2 separate regions of the Homo sapiens genome follow, and region 1 is linked to region 2. Evidence: promoter capture Hi-C in human tissues and cell types (Jung and others, 2019). All regions are on one chromosome and are shown on one strand. The core of a region is centred on a gene start or on the middle of the fragment in contact, and the rest is flanking DNA. Distances in the headings are between cores, read along the strand shown. Region 1 overlaps SNUPN (snurportin 1). Region 2 holds the start of COMMD4 (COMM domain containing 4).

Evidence for each region. The method cuts DNA at HindIII sites, captures the fragments that hold promoters and counts their contacts. A contact is called where the count stands out against the background at its distance.
Region 1: a contact is called between a fragment that was not itself captured here and the fragment with the promoter of COMMD4 in region 2, in 5 of the 25 tissues and cell types used here (bladder, heart right ventricle, liver and 2 more).

What each region holds. Positions count from the first base shown.
Region 1 is chr15:75,597,128-75,601,600 of GRCh38, reverse strand. It overlaps SNUPN (snurportin 1), which reads left to right. Exons shown (of 9, transcript NM_005701.4): 8 at 383-463; 9 at 2,920-3,515. The coding sequence ends at 3,243. Among named protein-coding and RNA genes, the nearest start is that of PTPN9, 20 kb to the right of the region's middle. The HindIII fragment of the contact is 4,669 bases long and covers 1-4,473 here.
Region 2 is chr15:75,333,659-75,338,557 of GRCh38, reverse strand. COMMD4 (COMM domain containing 4) reads right to left here and starts at 2,495. Exons shown (of 8, transcript NM_017828.5): 1 at 2,466-2,495; 2 at 425-496; 3 at 138-203. The coding sequence starts at 2,468. RefSeq lists enhancers at 2,102-2,271, 2,612-2,661. The HindIII fragment of the contact is 27,503 bases long and covers 1-4,899 here.

The DNA.
Region 1 (4,473 bases), core at 1,076-3,575, 260 kb before region 2:
GATTTTCTTTTCTTTTTGCTTTTTTTGAGAGGGAGTCTTGCTCTGTCACCCAGTCTGGAGTGCAGTGGCATGATCATGGCTCACTGCAACCTCCCCTTCCTGGGTTCAAGCTATTTTCCTCCCTCAACCTCCCAAGTAGCTTGGACTACAGGCACATGCCACTATGCCTGGCTAATTTTTGTATTTTTAGTACAGACGGGGTTTCACCATGTTGGCCAGGCTTGTCTTGATTTCTTGACCTCAGGTGATCCTCCTGACTTTGCCTCCCAAAGTGCTGGGATTACAGGTGTGAGCCACTATGCCTGGCCTGACAGAGATTTTCAATTGCTTGGGCCAGTATCATTTATAACGTACTAATTCCTTGTTCTAATTTCTATTTCAGTTTAAATTTGTGGGGCTAAAGAACTTCCCTTGCACTCCCGAAAGCCTGTGTGATGTGCTATCTATGGATTTCCCTTTTGAGGTAACGAAACCATTGTCTTTATTGCCTTGACATGATGATAGGCTGCAGAGAGACTTAGTTACACAAAGTCTTAAAATATTCCTTGATTGTGCTGTGTCAAAGCATCAGAATGGGACAAAGCTGATTCTGGAGAAAGGATGTACTTGCTGCCCTTCAGAGCCTGAGCTCCACCCATGCTGGATAAGTCAGAATGCTGGCACTGGAAGGGCCCTTAATGGACAGCTCGTCCAACTCCCTCATCTTACAGATGGAGAAACTGAGGTCCGGAGAAACTGAGGCCCAGATAGGAGCAAGACTTGCATGCCTAGATCCTTCTTGTGTGCCTCTTCCTACTGCAAGCTGAGACCCAGGTCCCTGGTTTGGCTGTCGTGGCTGCTTGTAAAGTGAAGGTGCTTCTGTGACTGAATGACTCCAACAAATGTCCAAATCCCTAATCCTTTCCTCACCAAAGAAGATGGCCCTTGGGGACAGCAGCACTTGCTGAGCAGGAGCATGAGTCAGGTGACCACCTCATTCCAGTTTGCTCAGGACTCGCCCTGTTTTAGCACTGAAAGTCTCACAGCGGCTGGGCATGGTGGCTCACGCCTATAATCCCAGCACTTGGGAAGGCCGAGGCCGGTGGATCACTTGAGGTCAGGAGTTCAAGACCAGCCTGGCCAACATGGCAAAACCTCGTTTCTACTAAAAATACAAAAATTAGCTGGGCGTATTGGCAGATGCCTGTAATCCCAGCTACTCGGGAGGCTGAGGCAGGAGAATCACTTGAACTTGGGAGGCAGAGGTTGCAGTGAGCCGAGATTGAGCCACTGCACTCCAGCCTGGGCAACAGCACAAGACTCTGTCTCAAAAAAAAAAAACAAAAAACAAACCTCACAGCCCCAGAGGCTCCCCAGTCCTCAACAGTCTTGTCAGCCTCAGAACCTGCAGCTACCTTCTCTAGGCTCAACAAGCACATTTTCCTTTGCCCATCATTCCCTTAAAAATTCTGCCTTGGCCGGGCACAGTGGCTCACACCTGTAATCCCAGCACTTTGGGAGGTCGAGGCAGTTGGATCACCTGAGGTCAGGAGTTCAAGACCAGCCTCGCCAACATGGTGAAACCCCGGCTCTACTAACAATACAAAAATTAGCCAGGCATGGTGGCACACGCCTGTAGTCCCAGCTACTTGGGAAGTTGAGGCAGGAGAATCTCTTGAACCCGGGAGGCGGAGGTTGCACTGAGCTGAGATCGCACCACCGCACTCCACTGCAGCCTGGGCAACGAGCGAAACTCCATCTCAGAAAGAAAAAAAAAAAAAAAAATCTGCCCAGTCACTGCAAGCATTTGCTTGAACTGGATGTAATTTTATATAAGGATCACAGCTTCCCAAATAAGGAAATGGCAAAGGCTGAGTTGCCAGCATTTCTGGGAGTCAATTAAGAAGGTGGTAAGAATACCATCTTTATTTATAACCCTTATGCCCCAGTGACAATAAATGCTTTTTAGAGATGAGTCACTGAATCATAGAAAATAAAATGTGGGACTGTAGGAGGTCTTCCCGTTGAGAAAAACTGTTTCCCAGAACATGGCTCACAAACAATTTAGGGGGAGGTTTAGGCAACCAACAGTAGCCAGGGAAGCAGGGCATCTGGACAGCCTGTTTCCACTGTGTGCAGCAATCTGCTGCCCCGGAGGGGCCTGTCCAGTTCCTCTGCTTTTCATTCCATGCACAGAGCTCATCCACCACAACACAGACCCCTAAGTGGTGGAAAGTCCGTGGAATCTGGGGACAGAAGACCAGAGTTCAAGTTGAAGTCCTGCTTCCTACTCACTGTGTGTTTTAAGGAGGTCCTCAGAACTCCCTGAGTATGAGCAGCCCCATCTCTCAGACACCGTCATGGGTAAGATAGTAAAATAGTGGGCAGGAAAGCACTCTGTAAACAGGAAAGTGCTATTTATGTTTATCCTTTCCTTTTTTTTTTTCTTTTTTTGAGACAGAGTCTCACTCTGTCGCCAGGCTGGAGTGCAGTGGTGCAGTCTCAGCTCACTGCATCCTCTGCCTACTGGGTTCAAGCGGTTGTCGTGTCTCAGACACCCGAGTAGCTGGGATTACAGGCATGTGCCACACATGCCTGGCTATTTTTTTGAATTTTTAGTAGAAATGGAGTCTTACCATGTTGCCCAGGCTGGTCTCAAACTCCTGAGCTCAAGCAATCTGCCTGCCTCAGCCTCCAAAGTGCTGGAATTATAAGCATGAGCCACCACGCCCAGCCAATGTTTTTATTTTCTCAAATTTAGTTTTCTAGGCCATTTCTTTATTTAGAGAAACGGCATGTGTGAGAAGCTGGGACTCTTTCCTCTGTCAGTGACCCAGAAAAAGGAGTCGGACCACAAGAGCTGCCCTTGTGTGTATAGGCTCTCCTGGAAACATGTGGCCCCAGAAGTCATTTGATCCTCAATTTCCCCTTGTCTTATAGGTAGATGGACTTCTCTTCTACCACAAACAGACCCACTACAGCCCCGGAAGCACTCCCTTGGTGGGCTGGCTGCGCCCCTACATGGTGTCAGATGTCCTTGGTGTAGCTGTGCCGGCTGGCCCGCTGACCACCAAGCCAGACTATGCTGGGCACCAGCTCCAGCAGATTATGGAGCACAAGAAGAGCCAGAAGGAAGGCATGAAGGAGAAACTCACACACAAGGCCTCTGAGAATGGGCACTATGAATTGGAGCACCTGTCTACTCCCAAGTTGAAGGGTTCTTCCCATAGCCCAGACCACCCTGGATGCCTCATGGAGAATTAAAGAGAGAAGCCTCCTTAAGGAGCCACAGGATGGTACCTGGCCCCAAAAGGAATCCTGGAGAGGAGGACAGTGACAACAGGTGACTTCATTCTTTAGAGTGAACTTTCCAAACCCAGTCCAGCTGGAAACAGCTTATCTATAATCTGAAATGCTGGCTCAAACAGTTATGGGGAGGTTCCCAGATTGCGTAGCATTCAGATTGATTTGAGCAGCTCCTACTGTGATAAGTGTATCCCAGATCCACAATGTAAATATATGTGATTTGTAAGAAAGAACTGGTTTGTGGTTCTTAAGCTTTAGATAGCCATGAATCTCCCCTTCCCATCTCAGTCCCCTGGGCTACTTCAACCATGGCTGTTCAAGTCTTGGCCCATTTCACTCTTTTTAGTACTCAAAGATTCTGCTGAGTTTCCAGTTGCTGCTGCCGCCGAAAGGTTTTACCAGGAACTGCAATTCTGGGTATTTGAATATGTTCCCTCTTCTGAGAAGACAAGTGTGATTTTCTTTGGTTTAGACATTGCCAGAGATAAAATGCAAATGTAGTTCATTCACTCCTTCAGCAAACATTTGTGCCTACCAGGAGATAAGCTTGTCCTAGGCCCCTGCCAAGTAGAGGGGTTATGGAGGTGGACAGTACTTAGTCCCTGCCCTTGAGGAGCTCACACTCCTGTGAGAAAAGAAGCCCACCAGGACAGTTTGGGAGAAGAGGCTGGAGAGAGATAGCAGGTTTTAGATTTTGTGTCATGGATGAAAGGAGCTAAGAAAGAACTTTGAGCAGGCAAGGTCTCTTGAGATTTGTGAACTGGAGGTCTTTGGCAGCTGTGAGAATGGAAGATTGTGTTGGAAACTGACTAATTAGTTTCTGCTTTGTATTCAGGAAATGGATCCCACTTCCTGTGGCTTCAGTCAGCTCCCATATTGCTTCCCATCTTTCTAGGACTCTGTCATGGATACAAGTACTTCACCATTCCCTCCAGCAGCACTAGTGTCCTGTGGACAGATTTTCACAGGGATCCAGGTCAGCTCTTGTCTGACATGCAGTGGTCCCTGCATGTTGATTAGTTCTGGGAACAGATTTGGGCAGAGGTAGTAGTTATTTGGAGCCTGATTATACAACTTCAGTACATCCAGTGGAACTAGTCTTAGTGTCGGCTCTTAGAGAGTTGCTCAAGCTGACCTTGTAAAATTGGAAGACTCCCCGCTCCCACCCTCATCCATTGATGATCCTGC
Region 2 (4,899 bases), core at 1,246-3,745:
AGGCTGGAAAGAAGGAAGGGAGGTGCCCAGAGAGGTTGAGAGGCTGGCTCACCCGTCTCCCTGGGCCTAGTGCAGAGTTTCAGGGCAGTGGTGGTCATAAGGTCATGGGACAATGGGGTGCTGGATCTTGTACTCACATCAATCCCCTGTCCCAGCAGCTCCTTTAGTACCTGGCTGCAGAGCAGCCGCAACTTCACAGAGGACTGGAAGGGAAGTCCTTACATCAGCCAGGCTGGCAAACCTCACCCCTCCTTCCTGGGGACTGGCTCAGAGCAGGCCAGCCACTGATCAAGGTCACAAAGCATGGTAGCACAGGCTGAGAGCACTGAGGCCCTAGCCCCAGAGAAACCTCACCATCCTCTACACCCACAATCCCCACCCCCAACACCCCTCCTCCACCCAGACTAGACCCTGTGCACTCAACCATCTTGGCCAGCGTGCTGATTTCTGCCAGGACCCAGTCGGGACAGTCCAGATCACCACAGAACCGGAACCTCTGCAAGGGAGGGAGGCAGGTAATCAGGCTGGAGGGAGGCCTGAGGTGTGGCCAGGATCCGTGTGTCTCCCACACTGCTGCCCACCAGGGACCCCTGGTCCCCGACATAGATGGATACCCTCTGGCCTCTTGTTCTCCCCTATCACCAGGCTGTTGAGTAAACTCTCTCCCTGACCCACCCTGCCACCAAACCCTGCTCTGAGGTCTACTCCAGGCATTCATCTGCTCAGCAAACATCAATTAAGCACCTTCTCTGTGCTAGCTCCCACTCTAAGTGCTGGGGGTACAGCATGGGATAAAACAAAGTCCTGGGCCTCACAGAGACGAGTGAACTCTCTCCCCTCTTCCCCATACCCACACAACTCCAGCCACTCCAGCTTCCCTGCTGCTGCTGGGGCACACCAGCCTTGCTCCCGCCTCCATGCCTGCTGCACTCTCTGTGTGGCTTGCTATCCTTTTTTTTTTTTTTTTGAGACAGTTTCACTCTTGTTCCCCAGGCTGGAGTGCAATGGCGCGACCTCGGCTCACTGCAACCTCCGCTTCCCAGGTTCAAGTGATTCTCCTGCCTCAGCCTCCCAAGTAGCTGGGATTACAGGCATGTGCCACCACACTCGGCTAATTTTGTATTTTTAGTAGAGACAGAGTTTCACTATGTTAGCCAGGCTGGTCTTGAACTCCTGACCTCAAGTGATCCGTCCCCCTCAGCCTCCCAAAGTGCTGGGATTACAGGCGTGAGCCACGGCGCCTGGCCAGTGGCTTGCTATCCTTTAAGTGACACATCAGACCAGCCCTTCTTTTTTTAAAAAATAAAAAAATAAGACAGAGTCTCCCTCTGTTGCCCAGGCTGGAGTGCCATGGCCATGCTGGTCTCGAACTCCTGACCTCAGGTGATCCACCCTCTTCACTCTCCCAAAGTGCTAGGATTACAGGCATGAGCCACCGCACCCAGCCAGAACAGCCTTTCTTGATTATACTTCTTAAAATAGCCCCTCACACAAGGAAATTATGGAGGCCAGTGGATACGTTCATTATCTTGATTGTGGTGATCCAAGAGCCAGGAAGATTTGTTCTCTACTTGTCCAGCCTCATCTTTCCCTAACCTGCAGATGATACTCTCCCAGCTATGGGAAATGCATCCATTCCTGGGGAGCCATACTCTCTCTAACCTGAAGTCTCTGCACATGCTGTTCCCTGTCTGAAGACACACGTCTCCCACCCTTGCCTCCCTACCCCTGGTACACAAACTGTACTTCAGCCAGCCAGCTCCTGCCATCCATCCGCCTTTAAGTTTGATGGCATCCTTAGGAAGCCCCCTTAGCACTACACACAAGGCGCAGTTAGGTCTCTGCCCCTGGAGCCTTAGCTATGACTCCAATTCAAGCCTCCGATTTCCCCTTCCCTTGGCAGCTCAAGTCCTCCCAGTGCCTAGCACACTTCATGGTATAGACCAGGCGCTTAGAACGTACGGATGGATGGATTGGATGGATGGATGGATAAGTCTCAACCCCAAAACTACTACTTTCTGGCTCTGGAAAGAGCGGAGGGGCTTCCTAACAGTGTGGAAGAGTGAGCCTGATTCTAAGCACCTTCTTGTACAAGCCCCACGGCAGGGCTGGGGAAGGGGGTATCCTTGGGAGGTCCTCTTGGGGATGGGGAAGACCTGAAAGGACTCCCAGCTCCAGACAAGCCCTAGTTCCTGCCCCGGGAGGCAGGGGCCCTTCCTTCCGCCAGGGAAGCACCGGGACTCTAAGCCGGCCGGCCTGCTCTGTCTTACCCGCCCCGTACCCCCGCCCCCGTCTCGGGAGCGGGAGAGTGGTGGACTTTTCCCTACCAGACTCACAGCCCTCACGCCCGCACACACTGTGTTTGCGGAGAGGCCAGTACAACCTCCCCCAGTTTCCGGAGCCACTTGGCGCCCCCTCATTCCCGCTCCAGCAGCCCAAGCCTCGCTTCGCCCCTAGTGCCTCACCATCGCGCCAAGAAGCCAGGGCCCGGGAATTTCTTTTTCCGGTCCCGCAGGGTCAGCTGAGTCGACGATCACGTGACTTGGACTAACTGCCTCTGGGAGGGCGGGGCCTGCTCGAGTGAGGCCGGGAGCGGACCGCAGCCCGCTGGAGGTGCAGGGGGCGAAATGCTGGCGTCTCCTCCTCCGTCTCCCAGAATCCTTCCCTGGAAAAAACTGGCGCCAACCGCCAGTTTAACTGAGGACCGAATTAAGACATTAGGAAAGACAGTGGAAGTTATTTCATTTGTTTAACTTAAGGGGGTAGGATCCCGGGAGCCAGGGTGTTTCAGGTCATTGACACGTTTTCCACTGTTAAGCGAATAGCATTATTCACAGCTGCGGGCTGTGGCAAAAGACATTTTAAAAACTATTGACGTCTACTACACATACAGAAAATTGTACCTATTATAAAGCTTAATAAGTTTTCATCAACTGTACACCTCACATAACCAGCACCCAGGTAAGGAAATAAACCAGATAACTTCTTCAAGTGCATGGGTATTTTATTTCATTTTGATGAATCATCTAGGTGCCTAGCAAAAAGGGCTGTCATAATTACTTGCTCAGGAAAACTCCCTACAGCTTCAACATCAATAGATGCTTATCTTAATTTTTGCCAGTCTGATGGGGAAGAAAAATCGGTTGCTTAGGTTGCAGTGGTAGTCTGATTACTGGTAGCTCTGAGCTAATGGGTAGTCTAGAACAACTAAGTTTCCGACATTGACTTGAAGAGGCAAAAACAAAAAGACAAAACAACAAGAAAAATACATTTGAGAATAGACTAATAACCAGAGACAAAATTGAATACAGTCGTCCTTTGGTAACCTCAGGATGTTGGTTCCAGGACCCCAGAGATACCAAAATTCACAGATACTCAAGTCCCTGATATAATATGGCATAGTATTTGCAAATAACCTGTGCACATCCTTCCGTATACTTTAAATCATCTCTAGATTACTATAATACCTAATACAACGTAAATGCTTTGTAAATAGCTGTTATAAAGTTTTTTAATTTTTTTTTTTGAGACGGAGTCTTGCTCTGTTGCCCAGGCTGGAGTGCAGTGGCGCGATCTCCACTCGCTGCCAGCTCTGCCACCCGGGTTCACGCCATTCTCCTGCCTCAGCCTCCCGAGTAGCTGGGACTACAGGCGCCCGCCACTGCACCCGACCTGTGTTTTTTTATTGTTTTACTTTTTCCAAATATTTTCGATGCACAGTTGGTTAAATCCAAGGATCCAGAACCTCAGGATACAGAGGGCTGACTGTAGTTTGAGCTCTCTCCTCAATTCCATGCCTATCCCATGCAACAGGTGCAGCTGGTTTTATTGTTGCAGGCTTTCAGGTTTTTAAAAGACAGAGCCCATGACAATTAAACTGCACTATAAAATAGAAATGTAAAGTGTCCCCAATTCATGGTAAAATTGAGCTCATTTCTGAAGAGTTCTTTTACAAATCATAACCACTAGCCTGTTGAAAACAACAGTACGTTAAGTTACTAGACTATCCTAAACCATGTCAAAAAAATTTTTTAAGAATGTTAAGACCTTTAATCATAGCACTTTGGTAGGCCAAGGCCGGTGGATCGCTTGAGCCCAGGAGTTCTAGACCAGCTTGTGCAACATAGGGAGACCCCAGTCTCTACAAAAAATTACCCGCTTGTCCTGGTGCACACGTGTTGTCCCAGCTACCTAAGAGGCTGAGGTCAGAGGATCTCTTGAGCCTGGGAGGTGGAGGCTGCAGTGAACCATGATGGCACCACTGTACTCCATCCATCCTGAGCAACAGAAGGAGACCATCTCAGAAAAATAAAATAAAATAAAAATAAATAAATAAATAAATAAATAAATAAATAAAGGCTGGGCACGGTGGCTCATGCCTGTAATCCTAGCACTTTGGGAGGCCGAGGCAGGCAGATCACCTGAGGTCAGGAGTTCGAGAGCGGTGGCCTGGCTAACATGGCAAAACCTGTCTCTACTGAAAAAAAACAAAAAAAATTAGCAGGGTGTGGTAGTGGGTGCCTGTAATCCCAGCCAGTCAGGAGGCTGAGGCATGAGAATCGCTTGAACGCGGGAGGTGGAGGCTGCAGTGAGCCGAGATTGCACCGCTGCATTTCAGTCAGCTTGGGCAACAGTGTGAGACTCCGTCTCAAAAAAAAAAAAAAAAAAAAGATGATTTGACTATTTAGAGCCGTGGTTCTCACACATTAGAGTGCATCATCATCACCTGCAGGGCTTGTGAAACCGGCTGCTGGGCCTCACACCAGAGTTTCTAACTCAATAGGACTGAGGTGGGGCCTGAGCATTGCGTGTCTATATTCCCAGGTGACATTTGAGACCATGCTTTGAAAACCACTAGTGTAGGGAAATATACTACAGAATATGTTATGAATATTCTTG